3 separate regions of the Homo sapiens genome follow, and regions 2 and 3 are each linked to region 1. Evidence: promoter capture Hi-C in 16 types of primary human blood cells and fetal thymus (Javierre and others, 2016). All regions are on one chromosome and are shown on one strand. Each heading gives the region's core, a stretch centred on a gene start or on the middle of the fragment in contact. The rest is flanking DNA. Distances are from core to core; before and after follow the strand shown.

Region 1 (4,570 bases), core at 1,127-3,626:
CATCTGTTTGGAACTTGTTCATTAGATTATTTGGCTCTCAGTGGTTTTAGTATGTCTTTATGTTCTCCTTTAGTATTTAGAAAATTATCTGTAAAATTACCAGTCTGTTTTAACCAGGTTGCGACAGTGCCTTCCCCAACAAAAGATGGCTCCTTGCTTCTTCCCCTGTCCCTCAACAAAGAAAGTTTCAGGGGCCAGCATGGAGGTGACAGCTGGGATTGAGTAAATCCCAAGAAGATGGCTTGCTTGTTTTCATATCACAATCTTAAAGTTTATAGGATTTATTTTTTTTCTACTTAGAGTTGTTCCTTTACAGTCAATGTTATAGGCAAGCAGTGCCTATCATGTATCTGTTAGTATCCTCATCAGTACGTTGCTCTAGGAAACTCTCCTGACATGTGATTGGGAGAGAGAACTCCCAGCAAGTCCATTTATCATATGACTAGAGTAAGTGAAAGGCAATTCTTTTTAAAATGTGAGTTATGGAGCTTTGTAATGTGCCATTTATCTATGTCTACTGTGGAAAGGAAGGACACCAGGGCAAGTTTATTACTTAAACGGTGTGTTCTCTGTTGTCCTTAGGGCTTAATTTTCCACACCTTGTTCTGGAACATAGTAATACTCTAACATGATGAATTTCCATGAAAACATTGATTAAGCACCAGGAGTTGCTTACCCACGTGGAGTAGGCATTTGACCCTGCTTATTAGTCTTCTGTGTCTAATTAAACAGTTTGGTTAAATGTTTACTACCCCACATATGCAAGGAATATTTTCTTGGAAAAAAGCGAAAACAGCTTTGGAAATTGGAAACAATCTAGAACTACTAGGCAGGTAAGCTTGAGAATTTCCCAAGGATAAAAGCAATGAATTCAGTCAACCATAGATTTGAAATGCTTCACTAAGAAATGAAATGGAAGGATCCCTACATTTCTTTTTCCTCCCATCAAAATGGTATTGACAAGAGACCATAAACCTTGGGCGAATGGAACAAAAGGGAACTATTTGCACTCACACTAAATGGATCACACGTGAAATATTTAGTTCCCAGTTTTAAGAAGTCAATATAAACCACACAGAGAGAAAATTCTTTGTCTCCAGGCCTCCTTTTCAAAACAATCCCAGCAGGTATTGCACAATTGCAGACAATACTGTCCTAATGCATTAGAGCCTAAGTCCCCTAAACGCATTCAAGTTAAGAGGGCTCAAGCCTACAAATGTTTATTCAGCACCTGCTTCTCTGTCTCCAGGACATCCTACTTGTATTCCCAGGGCCATCCTACTTGTACTCCCAGGGCCTCCTCCTCCTTAAATGTTTAGCAAGTAGGTGAATGTTGTATGTCCATGTGAAAGATACTGGCATTCCTAGGGTGCTTAGCAGAGTTGCAGTCACATAGTAGGTATCCAACAAATGAGTAAATATGAAGGAAAACATAGAAACTGCCTTCAAGAGGTCATGGGCTAAACTAGGGCTGGGAAAAGCACTTGGTCCTGTGCACTTCCTTGGAAACAGAAGTGAGCCAAGGCTTGAGGGAGGCACGAAGGAGTTCAGAACCACTGAAGGGAGCCTCTAGTTCTTACTTGTAATGCTTTCCCCTTCAGTGCACCACACAACACAACAGGACCAGTCCCCTATCAGGGCCACCACTCTACCGGGCTGGGGAGGAAAGCCCTTCGCAGTCCTGCGGGAACAGGAGGCACTCCCACATTGCTCCACTTCTCTGTATTCCAGTTTAATTAATTTTTATATTTTGAATAAAATTACACCCACTCTCTTCCATTATGGTGAACACTTAAAATTACATTTATAGAAAATTACATTTACACAAACTTGTTTAAAAGCCAAATCCCAGACCTAGGCTATTGGCCAAATTCCATTTAAAGGGGATATTAAGTAAATTAGTTGAGCTGATTAAAAACACCTTCATCAAAGTAGAGCATTGGTGCCAACAATATTAAGAGTTGAACTATTGATTACATTTTTTTTTCCACAGCAGATAATACATTAGCAGGGAGGAAAAGTGATTACTGCTCGCTTCCACTTCACAGGTAGAACTACTGATGGGGGTGACGCGGTAAGGTGGGAGGGCATGAAGGCAGGGGACGCGGCCTAGGTCAGGAGGGACGCAGAGGAGAAAGGAAGAGGAGGGGTGGAGGCTGGTGGCTGGAGGGGGCAGAGGTCAGACGCCTCGAAGGAGGGCGCCGTGAGGGCAGAGCCGCGGCCACCTCTACCGCAGCAGCCCGTCGGGCCGGACACCAGCCGCAGCCGCCAGCCCGGCAGACGCTGGAAGCGCGCACAGGGGTGCTCCCGCTCCCGGCCGCCAGAGGGCGCGGCCGGCGATGGCGCGGCGGAGACGGAGGGAGGAGGGGAGCCGGCAGAGAAGGGTCAGCCGCGGCGGCAGGGCGGCGGCGGCAGCGGCGCAGCTCCGCTCCCCGCGCGTCTCCCTTCCCCGCGCCCAGGTAGGGCGCTCAGCCTCCGCCGCCAGGATGCGGCCGCCCGCCTGCTGGTGGCTGCTCGCGCCGCCGGCGCTGCTCGCGCTCCTCACCTGCTCCCTGGGTAAGTAGCGGGCGGCCAGGCGCGCAAGGGCGAGGCGTGGGGTTCGCGGGCACAGTCGCCCGTGCCCCGGTCGGCGCGGGGAGGGAGGCGCAGGGCGGCCCAGCCCTGCCCCGCCGGCGCGCGCGTCCCGCCGTCCGGTCCCCGCCGCGCCGCGCCGTCAGCAGCGCCCTCTCGCGGCGCCCAGGTGGGACCCGGGCCCGGGACCCGAGGCGTGCCCGCTCGGCCCCTTTCGGTCTTGGGTCCCCGCTGCCGCCCCGGCCCCAGACTCGCGTCTCCCAGCCTCTGCCGCCCCGAACCGGCGGGCGACGGGGCGGCGAGGGCGCAGCAGCCGCCCCCACAGGAAGCGCGCAGGAACTGTGCCACCGAAGAAACTTTGCAACAGCGCGAGTGGCGGCGGCGGCGGTCCCGCCCCCCTGCCTTCCGCCCGCGCTCCGCCGTCCTGCGCGCCCCGCGCCGGGCGGGAGGCTGGACGGGAGCCGGCGAGGCGGCCCTCGAGGCCCCGCGGCTCCTGTTCGACCCCCGGGGGCGAGGACTGCGGTCCCGGTGTCCGCGCGCCCCTCCGCAGGGCCTTCGGGACGTGCCCTGGCCCCTGAGGATAAGCGGCCAGCTCGGCGCCAGCCCTTCCCGGATTCCGACCCGGAGGAGGACAGGGGCGCCCGCTGGGCCTCCGCGGGAGCTGGCGCGGCGGGGAGGCTTGCTCCTGTCTCGGGTCTCCGCTGGGGACATCAGGGGACACGTCTGCGAGCAGAGCAGTGCTTGCCCGGTCTCCTGCTGCTGTAATGCCCATTCTTTTTTATTTCTTTTCTCCTCGCAAGGGCATTTCCCCCCTTTATCTTAAAACGATGTGATAAAAGTTAAAAAAAAAAAAAAAGCAGCCTTGTAATTGACTTTCATGATCAGATTTGTTCAACTTTGAAAGCTTGAGCGAAAAATTATTTTTTTTTCAGACTGCTACAGAGTTTTTGTCCTCTAACCCAGACTTGCTGGTGTGAAAAGGCAATGATTTCAGATTTTTTAGTAATGGCAGAATGGTGCAGTTTAGGAAAAGACGTAGCGTTATTGCGCACTGCTCTTGTTAGCCCACCGGAACCTTGACAGCCTGTTTTTATTTGTATTTAAGCTCTCTGAATAAGGATTAATTTGCTGCATTTGTGTACTTCTGGCATTTCTATAGGCGCTCAGTAAGTGTGGGAAAAGAGCAAGATTAGTTGGTAATTGTTTACATGCATGATTAATTAGGCAGCAGTGTAATTAAAAATATTAGGGCACCTCCGGCAGAGAAGGCTGTAGTTGGTCTTGGGGAGCGACTGAATTTGGCTGGAATCGGCTTCAGTGGAAGAAGGGCATTGCTGGGTGGCAGCCCTGGGAGAAAGGGAGGTTGGAGGTTTGGGAAAGCGACTGGGTGACTCCTGGCTGCATCAGTTGGCTTGTTGCCTGGATGTTTTGCAACTAACCAAATGGGTGGGTGGTAGCTGAAATTGGTATTCTATTTATAGCACTGCACTTTATAATGCTGTACTGGGGGTATAATATTTGTATATAATATATACAACATATGGGCTGAAATGCACATTTGTATTGCTGTGTCTATTTTTTATTACCCCCAGGGGAATATTTGCACTGTCCAAATTTGATAATACACTGAAGGACATTCAGAATGCACTAAGATGTCAACACATTTTTAGAGATGTCTATTAGCCTTGTGAAGTTGTCAGATAAGCACAATAAATAAGACATAAAATGCATTAAAAGGTCCCTGTGAGACATTTGGCCTTTGGGAACTGGCTTTCATGGGTTGGCACAGACGGGAGGCTGTATTCTTCGAGGTCTGAAGTGAATCATGAATACCTTTTATGGAGCTCTGCTTCGATTTAGGGGAAGGGCACCGACACGTATAAAGATGTCCCCACTTACGATGTTCTTGGAATCTTGCTGAAACAGAATGTGACAGGCGTTCTGTCACATGTGAACAATCTTGATAGTTTATAAATACCTTAAATATTCCCATATAAGA
Region 2 (4,506 bases), core at 560-3,059, 530 kb after region 1:
TGTATAAAACAATGTGACAAAATCCAACACTCATTCATGATTTAAAAAAAAAAAAAACAACACAAAACTCCTAGCAAACTAAGAATGGAAGAAAACCTCCTCAATCTGATCAAGGGAATCTAGAAAAAACATTTACATTATACTGAGTGGTAAAAGACTGCATGCTTCCCCCTAAGATCAGGAACAGTCAAGGATGTCCACTCTCATCACTTCTATTCAACATTGTACTGAAGGTCCCAACGTGTGCAAAAAGGCAAGAAAAAACATACAAAAGGCATACAGATTGGGAAATCAGTGTAACTGTCTTTATTGACAGATGGCATGATAATCTATGAAGAAAATTCTAAGTAGTTTACAAAAAAGCTACCAGAATTAGCAAGTAGGTTTAGCAAGGTTTCTGTATATGAAGTCAATATGCAAAAACAATTGTATTTCATATACATGCCAGAAACAAAAATTGCAAATTATTTTTTTAAAGATAGGGTCTTGCTCTCTTGCCCACGCTGGAGTGCAGTGGCATGAGCATGGTTTACTACAGCCTCGAATTCCTGGGCTCAAGTGATCCTCCCACCTCAGCCTCCCAAGTAGCTAGGACTACAGGCATGCACCACCGCACCTGGCTAATTTTTTTTTGTAGACACAGGGTCTCACTGTGTTGCAGAGGCTGGTCTCAAACTCCTGGCCATCCGCCTGCCTCAGGCTCCCAAAATCTTGGGATTTTGAAATGAAATTTTATTTTAAAAAGTATAATTTCCTATAATATCTAAAAGAATGAAGGATGATTTTAACCAAATATGTGCAAGATTTGTACACTGCAAACTACTTTCATGGCTGAAACTTTCATGGCTGAAAGAAATTAAAGAGGACCTAAATACATAGCCACTAATACCATGTTTATGAATCAGAAGATCCTATATTGTTAAGAAGTAAATTCTCCCCAAATTTAGTTCTAGATTCCACACAACCCCAATCACAATACCAGCAAATGTAGAAATTGACAAGCTCATCCTGTGGAAATGCAAAGCACCTAGAATAGCATAAACAACTTTGAAAAAGAACAAAGTTGAGAATGTGTTTTGAAGACTTATTACAATTCTACAGTAGTTAAGACAGTGTGGTATTAGCAAAAGGATAGACTGTGAACTCAATAGAATAAAATAGAAAGTACAGAAATAGACCCACAAATGTATGCTCAATTAATTTTTAGCAGAGTTTTCAGGGTAATTCAATAGGGAAATGATAATCTTTTTAACAGCTGTTGCTGGAGCAATTGGACAGCCATATGCAAGACCTTGACTCTTTTCACATATCATGAACAAAAAATAACTCAAAATTTATTATGGACTGAAATGTAGGAACTCAAATTTATGTAAATGTAAACATAAAATTAGTGATTTTATTGTATATAAGCTATAACTCAATAACTTGTTTAAATATTTTCATTTTTCTACAACACATATTTTGTTTCTTTTGTTTATATTGAGTGCTAAAAGAATGAGTTAAAATTCTCTTCTCATAGAAAGCTAGTATTTTACAAAGACCCGGTTCAAATCATAATCTCATCTAGCATTTGTCCTAGGAAAGTCTTATAGATTAAAAATCTGTTTCCTAAGAAACACAGAATTGCATATAATGTTTCAGTTTTTCAGGAGGGTTCCTATATGCATCCACTATATCCACTAAAAGCTTCATATATCACTGAACTTGGCAACAGCTATATAAGAATTATAATTCCAAACAATTCTTTATATAGTTACCTCAAGAGATTTGTTTATGAAACACTTCAACAGCAAATATCTCAAGGTAAAATTGAACAACACAAAAATAAGAAACTGATAGAAGAACTCTGCTTTAGTAAAGCCAAACTGCCCCCTCGGTAAATATTTATTAAGCACCAAGCTCACATATATGTCATAGAAACCGATGATGATGTAAGCTTTGGCCCTCCCCAAAAACCAGCAACCAAGCCATTCCTGCGAAAACTGGTATTTATTACTGAACCATGGGCTGCTGTTCTGTTAACAATATCTGAATGTGATCCTGCCTGATATGGTTGTTGATATGTTGCATGACTTCCTAAGTAACTGGTTGTTAATCACGTCAAATGGAAAAATAACACTGCCAGGTGTGAGGTGAATAAAAACTGTAACTATTATTGTCATACTCTTGGAAGAGAAGCCTTCTCACTTTCTGATCTTCCTTAAGAAGAAAAGAAAATAATAGATACAAGTCTGGAATTCTCCGACCACTTTCATGGTGTTCTTCAAAGTGTGGCTATGACATTTGGAAATCTCTCATTGTTTTAGTTTATTTTTATTTTTATTTTTTAAATTTATTTTTATGTGTTTATTTTTTTAGACAGGGTCTCGCTATGTTGCCCGGGCTGGAGTGCAGTGGCGCAATCTTGGCTCACTGCAACCTCCACCTCATGGATTCAAGCAATTCTCGTGTGTCAGCCTCCCAAGTAGCTGAGATCACAGGTGCACCACCAGGCCCAGCTAATTTGTGTGTGTGTGTGTGTGTGTGTGTGTGTGTGTGTGTGTGTGTGTGTGTGTGTGTGTGTGTTTTTAGGTAGAGATGGAGTTTCACCATTTGGACAGGCTGGCCTTGAACTCCTGGCCTCAGCCTCCCAAAGTGCTGGGACTACAGGCATGAGCCACCGCACCTGGCCCCCAGTTTATTCCTCTTAACTGTTCTCCACTGTACATGTTCACCTTATAAGTGTTTGTCACTGATTGCTCTACTGCGTAGGTTCTTTCTCTCAGCACATCCACCTTTCATATACTGTGTTGTTAGGCACACAGCAGTAACGACGTGTCCCCCTGCCAGTCCGATCTTCCTAAGTCATATCATATTAGATGACATATATATTTTATATCTATAATATAATAATGAATAATATGTATGTTAAATATGGCTAAGTGAACATCATGGATAGACTTGGAGATGTACAGAATAGAGGGAAGTATCTCCAGCCTCAGGAGGCTTGTGGAAAGCAAAGGAAGTTCAGATTCTAGACAGCTAGCTGTGCTCCATTTTATATATATATATATATACACACATATACACACACACACACACACACACATATACATATAAAAACTTCAGGCCACTGTTGGCACCAGCCAGTGAAATCATTTCTCTCTCCAGTACCTCAGCCCCTGTCTCGGCTGCCTTCCTCAATCCCTTTCAGATCCCTTGGTCCTTGGTAGAGCCCGGGGGGCTCCTAACATAATGCCTTAGAGCAATTATCCTTGCATGCATCTGCCTTGGAGGTGGCTCTGTGATTTAATAGAGAATCTCAGTCTTTCTCTGGCTCTGTGCTTGAAAAAGTCTAGTTATTTGACCTCATCAATTTGATTGAAATGAGCTACTCTAGATCCCATGAAAATATACGACCATTTCAACATTTTCACAGAGTTTAGTGTTTTATTTTCCCCATTCATTTGTTAACTCTGTATGCCTTAAATACCCATTTTGAAATCCATAGTATTGTACTGAAGGATCCAGCTAATTTTCAGCATATAATTATTGTATGACTTCATAAGTAACTGGTTGTTAATCGTCTTAAATGGAAAAATAACACTGCTGGCTGTGAGGGGTGATTTTTCTTTTCCGCTTCTTTTCCTTGGGTTTACCCAGTTGAAGCCTGTGTATGCTAGCCACATAATAAATGCTCATTAGATAGTGATCTGATATTAACCGTATGTGACCCTAGTACCTTGAGTGACTTACAATTTTAATGACTTTTAATGAATATCTCCTACTATGTAACACCTGAATGATTTTAAAATTTTAATTCATTTCTCTTTAGCTTTTCAATCCCTTTATTCTTAAAGTATTTTAAGGAAATATTTTTGCAAGTGAAACTCCTTGTTTCCCAGACTGCACCTCTTTCCTGCATTCTGAAGTCTGTTTCCACCTGCTGGCTAGACATTGCTGTCTGGATGTTCCTCAAGTTTCTCAGGCTCAGCACATGGAAATACTCAACATCATCCTGATCAAATGCTCCTCTTCGTAAGTCTGTTATTCAGTGGCTCAATCCAGAGACCTGAGAATCACCGGAGACTTCTCTCTCTCCCCCTTCCTCCCATGACTCATCATCCCATCAATTCTTCCTCCAAAATACATCTCACATCTGTTTCCTCTCCTCATTCCCCCTGCCACGCTGTTGGTTCGTGCCTTCTTAGATGAATGCAATACATCTTACAGGTCTTCCTGCCTTCAGGGTCTGTCCTCTCCAGCACACCCTCTCCATGGGTCACGCCAACCTATTCTCCCCTCCTTGATTCGAGCTTTGCAACTACTCTCCCTTTCCCACCACGTGAAGTCTACATTTCTTCCCATGGCTTAAAAGGTACTTCACATGCTCCACTTCTACTTGCACGCCATGCCCTCCCACAGACCCCTTCACTCCAGCCTTCTACATATGCCACACCCCCTCATATTTCATCTTAAATGTAAACTCCAAATTTCATGAATGAACCCATCAATAAATGAAATAAA
Region 3 (4,990 bases), core at 1,741-4,240, 600 kb after region 1:
ATTTCCAAGATATATCATTATGAATGTGTAAATATTCCGAAATCCGAAATCCAAAACATTTCTGGTTTCAAACATTTTGGGTAAGGGATACTCAACCTGTACCACAGTAATTTTACTGTTGACTTTTACGCCTGAGATGTTAAAAGTGTGCTTTTCCCAACAGGTGTGAACTTGCTGGCTTTTCTCATCATTGTGTTTTCCTATATTACTATGTTCTGTTCCATTCAAAAAACCGCCTTGCAGACCACAGAAGTAAGGAATTGTTTTGGAAGAGAGGTGGCTGTTGCAAATCGTTTCTTTTTTATAGTGTTCTCTGATGCCATCTGCTGGATTCCTGTATTTGTAGTTAAAATCCTTTCCCTCTTCCGGGTGGAAATACCAGGTCAGTCTCTTCTATCATTCCCAAGTATAATACATCGTGCCTTCTTACGTCCTTCTTTTGACAAGGCCAGAGTCTAGGACACATAATAAATTATTCATAAAAACCAATACAAAGTTATTTCCCTCCATGTTTTATAATCAGTATTATAAAATAGAAACTGAGTAGTGGTGCAATCCAACCAGGAATAATAAAAAGCAGGAGCTACAGAGAAACTAAGTCTGAGTATCTTGCTTCTATCTGAGCAAGACATTGGTTCTTCACTAGGAGTATGCATAAAACAATCAAAATATACATGCCCAGGTTCCACCCGGGACTGTTTTGTCTCTAGAGGCTAAAACCTATAGATGGATGTTATGTAAAAATTCCCCTGTGATTCTGATGCACACTCATCTGGCTAGAACCACCATTCTATTCCATGGTCCTAGCCATAAAATGTCATGCTGGGCTCTGCGGAGCACGAGATATTTCCTGAAAGAGTCTCCTCCAAAAGGCCAAATTCCCTGAACACACCTCTACTTCAACCAGAGAAAATCACCTTTCCTTAGCAGAATTTCATCTGAAGCCCCTTCTGGAATCTAGAGATCACAGCTATTTAGGGGCCACCACCCAGGGCTTTAACCTAACTCTCAGTAAAATAGTTTGGAATCATCGTCAACCTACTGTTCCAGCCGATAGCAGATCTACTTGGGAGTTGATCCAAGACAGTAATTGTGTCTTATACATCTTGACTCCTCAGTGTCAAGCAGGATGCCTGATACTTTGATAGCCCTTATGAAAGAGTGATGAATGCACAGACGATAAACAGCTGTAACAACCTATGTCCCTCCTGTGCACTCAGTTGTGAGGCTATGTCAAATATCTTGCTGCAAAATACCACACAACATTCACAACATCCTCTTAAGCTATCAGTTCTGTCTCCACATGGCACAGATGCTCCTCAGGCCGTGTAGGATACGAAAGTGAAAATTAGGAAGGAGATCAGGTCAGGGCTGAATACTTGGAAGCCTTTGCTGGGTGGTGAAAGAAGAAGCCATAAGAGGGTTTTGTGGGAGGTCATGTGGGGAGACCCAGTTGCACGTGAAGAACAGAGATAATTAAATGTTAATAGTCACAGTTGTTCACTTGATGAACAGCCTCCAATCTATTACTGCTACCTGGACATCTCAATTTTACACCCTAACCTTTCAAATTCAGCAGGACAAAAGTGTCCGTTGGCCTCCATTGCTCATGGAACAAAGTCCAAGTGCTGGGATGAGCATTATAATATTTCTTACCTCCCACCCTCGTACACTGTGATCCAGGCCCACTGGAATGATTGGGCTTTGTTTTCTATGCTTTTCTGAGAAGACACCAGCCTTTCCTGAAGCTGTCCCCCCAACCTGGATTATACTTTCACCTTCTAAGATTTTAGCGTACTAAACACCACTTCCCATCCTCCAAGGCTCAACCCAAATACTCCCTCTTCTATGGTGCAGTGCCATTTTCGATCTCTTCTCACCCCACTTTCATGCAATCCAGTTGCTTAAACATCCATGATGGTTTGTTTACACCAGGTTTATTGGCCTCATGTGAACTGCCTCATAGCGACACTATTTCTTAGTGTGTCCATTGTGTCCTTCAGATGATAAGCTTGGGGAGGCGTGTATGTCTTATTCTTCTGTGCATTTTCCACAGTGTTTTTCACATAGTGCTTTTGAGTAAATGATTAGTCAACTAAAGAAGGTGAGCTGGTCCAAGAGTGATGGAATAGGGGATCAGTCTCATCAACCCCCTCCCCACTACTGTCTCCACACTTTCTTCAAAAAAAAAAAAAATGGAGTCTCGCTCTGTTGCCCAGGCTGGAGTGCAGTGGTGTGATCCCAACTGACTGCAACCTCTGCCTCCCTGGTTCAAGCGATTCTCATGCCTCAGCCTCCCGAGTAGCTGGGATTACAGAAGTGCACCACCACACCTCGTTAATTTTTGTATTTTTAGTAGAGACAGGGTTTCACCATGTTGGCCAGGCTGGTCTCGAACTCCTGACCCCAAGTGATCTGCCCCCTGCTTTGGCCTCCTAAAGTGCTGGGATTACAAGCGTGAACCACCAAGCCTGACCCCGTCTCCACACCTTTTGATGTGCTTTCCCACTTGTAGGGGGACGCAGCCTAGTGTGGTGGAAGAAGGACCCAGCAACAAGTAAGGCGGAGGTCCTGGGTTCCTCTCCTGCCCCTGCCACTGACTTGTTGAGTGATCTCAGGGAGACCATCTCACCTCACCTCAATGAGACTACCTCTAGATGGTCCCTCAAATTCCTGCCTGTTTTAATCTTCTTTGAGGCTTTTTCTGTCTGTATGAGGCCACTAGGACTGCTATAACAAAGGACGTCCAGTTCTGGAGGCTGGAAGTCCAAGATCAAAGTGTCAGCAGGTTTGATTTCTCCTGAGCCCTTCTCATTGCCTCACAGGAGGCGTCCGCTCTGCTGTGTCCTCACATGGCAGCAGAACTCATCATCCTCAGCGAGTCTACGACACCTCAGATCATGATAAGCTTAGTAAATACCCCCATGAAGGGAACTAGAAGAGTAGAACATTGTCTTGTGGAAACATTATTGAGCCACACACCAGTCTTTCTTTACATGTATAGTTCAATAGTCTGAGGTTTGTCTTGAACACCTCAGTGGAACCAGGAAAAATGTCATGATCACAGTTGACAAAGCTTCTTCTCGCTTGCCCAGCTTCCCATGGCGTTGTAAGAAATGCTGCCTTCACTGACCTAAACCAACCCTGTCCCCACCCTCCAAGAAGTCTGGCATTTACTGGTTATGGCATGCCACTGACAGTACCTGGGGTCACCCAAAAGATAGGCCAGAGTTAGCCTATCTCAGAACTCAGCTGCTGCTAATCTTATAAGAAGTCTCATCCCAGCACTTTGGGAGGCCGAGGTGGGCAGATCACGAGATCAGGAGATCAAGACCATCCTGGCTAACACGGTGAAACCCCGTCTCTACTGAAAATATATAAAAAATTAGCCGGGCATGGTGGCAGGTGCCTGTAGTCCCAGCTACTCAGGAGGCTGAGGCAGGAGAATGGCATGAACATAAGAGGTAGAGCTTGCAGTGAGCCGAGATCGTGCCACTGCACTCCAGCCTGGGCGACAGAGTGAGACTCCATTTCAAAAACAAAACAAAACAAAAACAAAAAGAAGTCTCATTCAGAGTAGAACTTAAGTCTATGGCCATACCACCCTGAACATGCCTGATTTCATTCAGAGTGGAACTTACGTGGCCTATTTGCCTTTGCCTAATTGAAAGCAGGCACTATCAGGCATTGTTTTTCTGTGAGATTGGGGTGGGATTCGTGATCACAATTCCCTTTGTGGGCACAACAGAAAAAGGCCACTTATTTTGTTTTTCTTCAATCACTAACTGTTCAGATTGTCTAATTTTTTTAAATTAGGGACAAATAATATAAAACTTAATTTAAGACAGGCTAAAACATAATTTTTTTCTTTCATATTCCTTTCAGTTAAAAAATAAGGACAAGGAAGAGAAGATAGGATAGGAAGAGAGGAAGGTAAATATAGAAAAGGAGAGGAAAGAGATCAAAGGAAAAGAAGAAGGAAGGTCAGATAAGCAGTCAGAGAAGAAATGGAAAAGGAAGAAGACATAGAGAGGAAGAACAGAAAGATACAAGAAATAAGGCAGGGTCAAGAGAAGAACAAAATAACAGTGGCTGAAGGATAAAAAAAATTATGAGATTGCGAAGGAGGAGAGCAGAGGATGATGAGAGAAAGCATCATGGGTCTTACTAGCCACCTCTTCACCTGAATGGGGAGTTCCTTGAAATTGTGAAGATGTGAGAGGAAGTAGCGTCCTGTGGTAAGGTTTGAGGATCTCAAGTCTTAGTACCAAAAAAGCACATCAGCAGAGCTGACTCTGGCCCAGCCCGCTGGATTCAGTGAGCAAGTTATCACCAGCCCCCTTTAACAGAGAGAGCAGATGAAGTTGAGGAAGCATAAGTGATTCGCTCACACTCAACCTAGCTAAGTGTCCGGCCACAGGATCAGGCCACGTGTAAAGGGAAAGATGCATTTTGTGCTAACCAAGCAAATGAAATGATGCTCTCAGGAAGGACACTATCATTCCAAATTTCACCTCACAAAGAACTTCTTGTGACCTCTTTCCCTGAATATTCTATTAGCATTTGTAGGGCTGCACACAAGAGAATTTCATCAAGTTTAGGGAATGCATTCCTCTTTGCTCTTCAAAGCTTTTAATAGGATAACAGGATAACCAGAACACCAGGGCAGGGCAATAAGCTTTGAGAACTGGATGGAGTTAAGACCAAGGTCAGATCTGGCTTGGTCCAGGGGACCAGAAGTTTTGTGAACCTCACTCTATTGACTAAAGATTATTTCTTTATTTTTTTATTTTCCTATAAAGGAAGGTGATAAAATAGGAAAAAATGCATTATATAGCAATTTATAGTTTACAAAATGTTTTCACATATTTCCTGTTAATATCACAATGACCTTCACATTATTTACTGAAACTCAGAAAAGTTAAATCGTTAAGACCTTGAATTCATAGCTTCTGTGCTCTTCCAACAAAGATTTTCCTTCAGGTGAGAG

What was found. The method cuts DNA at HindIII sites, captures the fragments that hold promoters and counts their contacts. A CHiCAGO score of 5 or more calls a contact.
Region 2: a fragment that was not itself captured here is called in contact with the fragment with the promoter of B3GLCT in region 1 in 1 of 17 cell types (megakaryocytes); the score reaches 5.8 in megakaryocytes.
Region 3: a fragment that was not itself captured here is called in contact with the fragment with the promoter of B3GLCT in region 1 in 1 of 17 cell types (megakaryocytes); the score reaches 5.6 in megakaryocytes.

Annotation. Positions count from the first base shown.
Region 1 is chr13:31,197,599-31,202,168 of GRCh38, forward strand. It overlaps B3GLCT (beta 3-glucosyltransferase), which reads left to right and starts at 2,377. Exons shown (of 15, transcript NM_194318.4): 1 at 2,377-2,556. The coding sequence starts at 2,487. RefSeq lists silencers at 2,018-2,077, 2,128-3,027, 3,088-3,337. The HindIII fragment of the contact is 2,637 bases long and covers 837-3,473 here.
Region 2 is chr13:31,728,016-31,732,521 of GRCh38, forward strand. No RefSeq gene overlaps it. Among named protein-coding and RNA genes, the nearest start is that of RXFP2, 9.3 kb to the right of the region's middle. The HindIII fragment of the contact is 250 bases long and covers 1,685-1,934 here.
Region 3 is chr13:31,797,038-31,802,027 of GRCh38, forward strand. RXFP2 (relaxin family peptide receptor 2) reads left to right here. Exons shown (of 18, transcript NM_130806.5): 17 at 164-382. It overlaps LOC105370152 (a long non-coding RNA gene), which reads right to left. Exons shown (of 3, transcript XR_941833.3): 3 at 1-455. Among named protein-coding and RNA genes, the nearest start is that of RXFP2, 60 kb to the left of the region's middle. The HindIII fragment of the contact is 168 bases long and covers 2,907-3,074 here.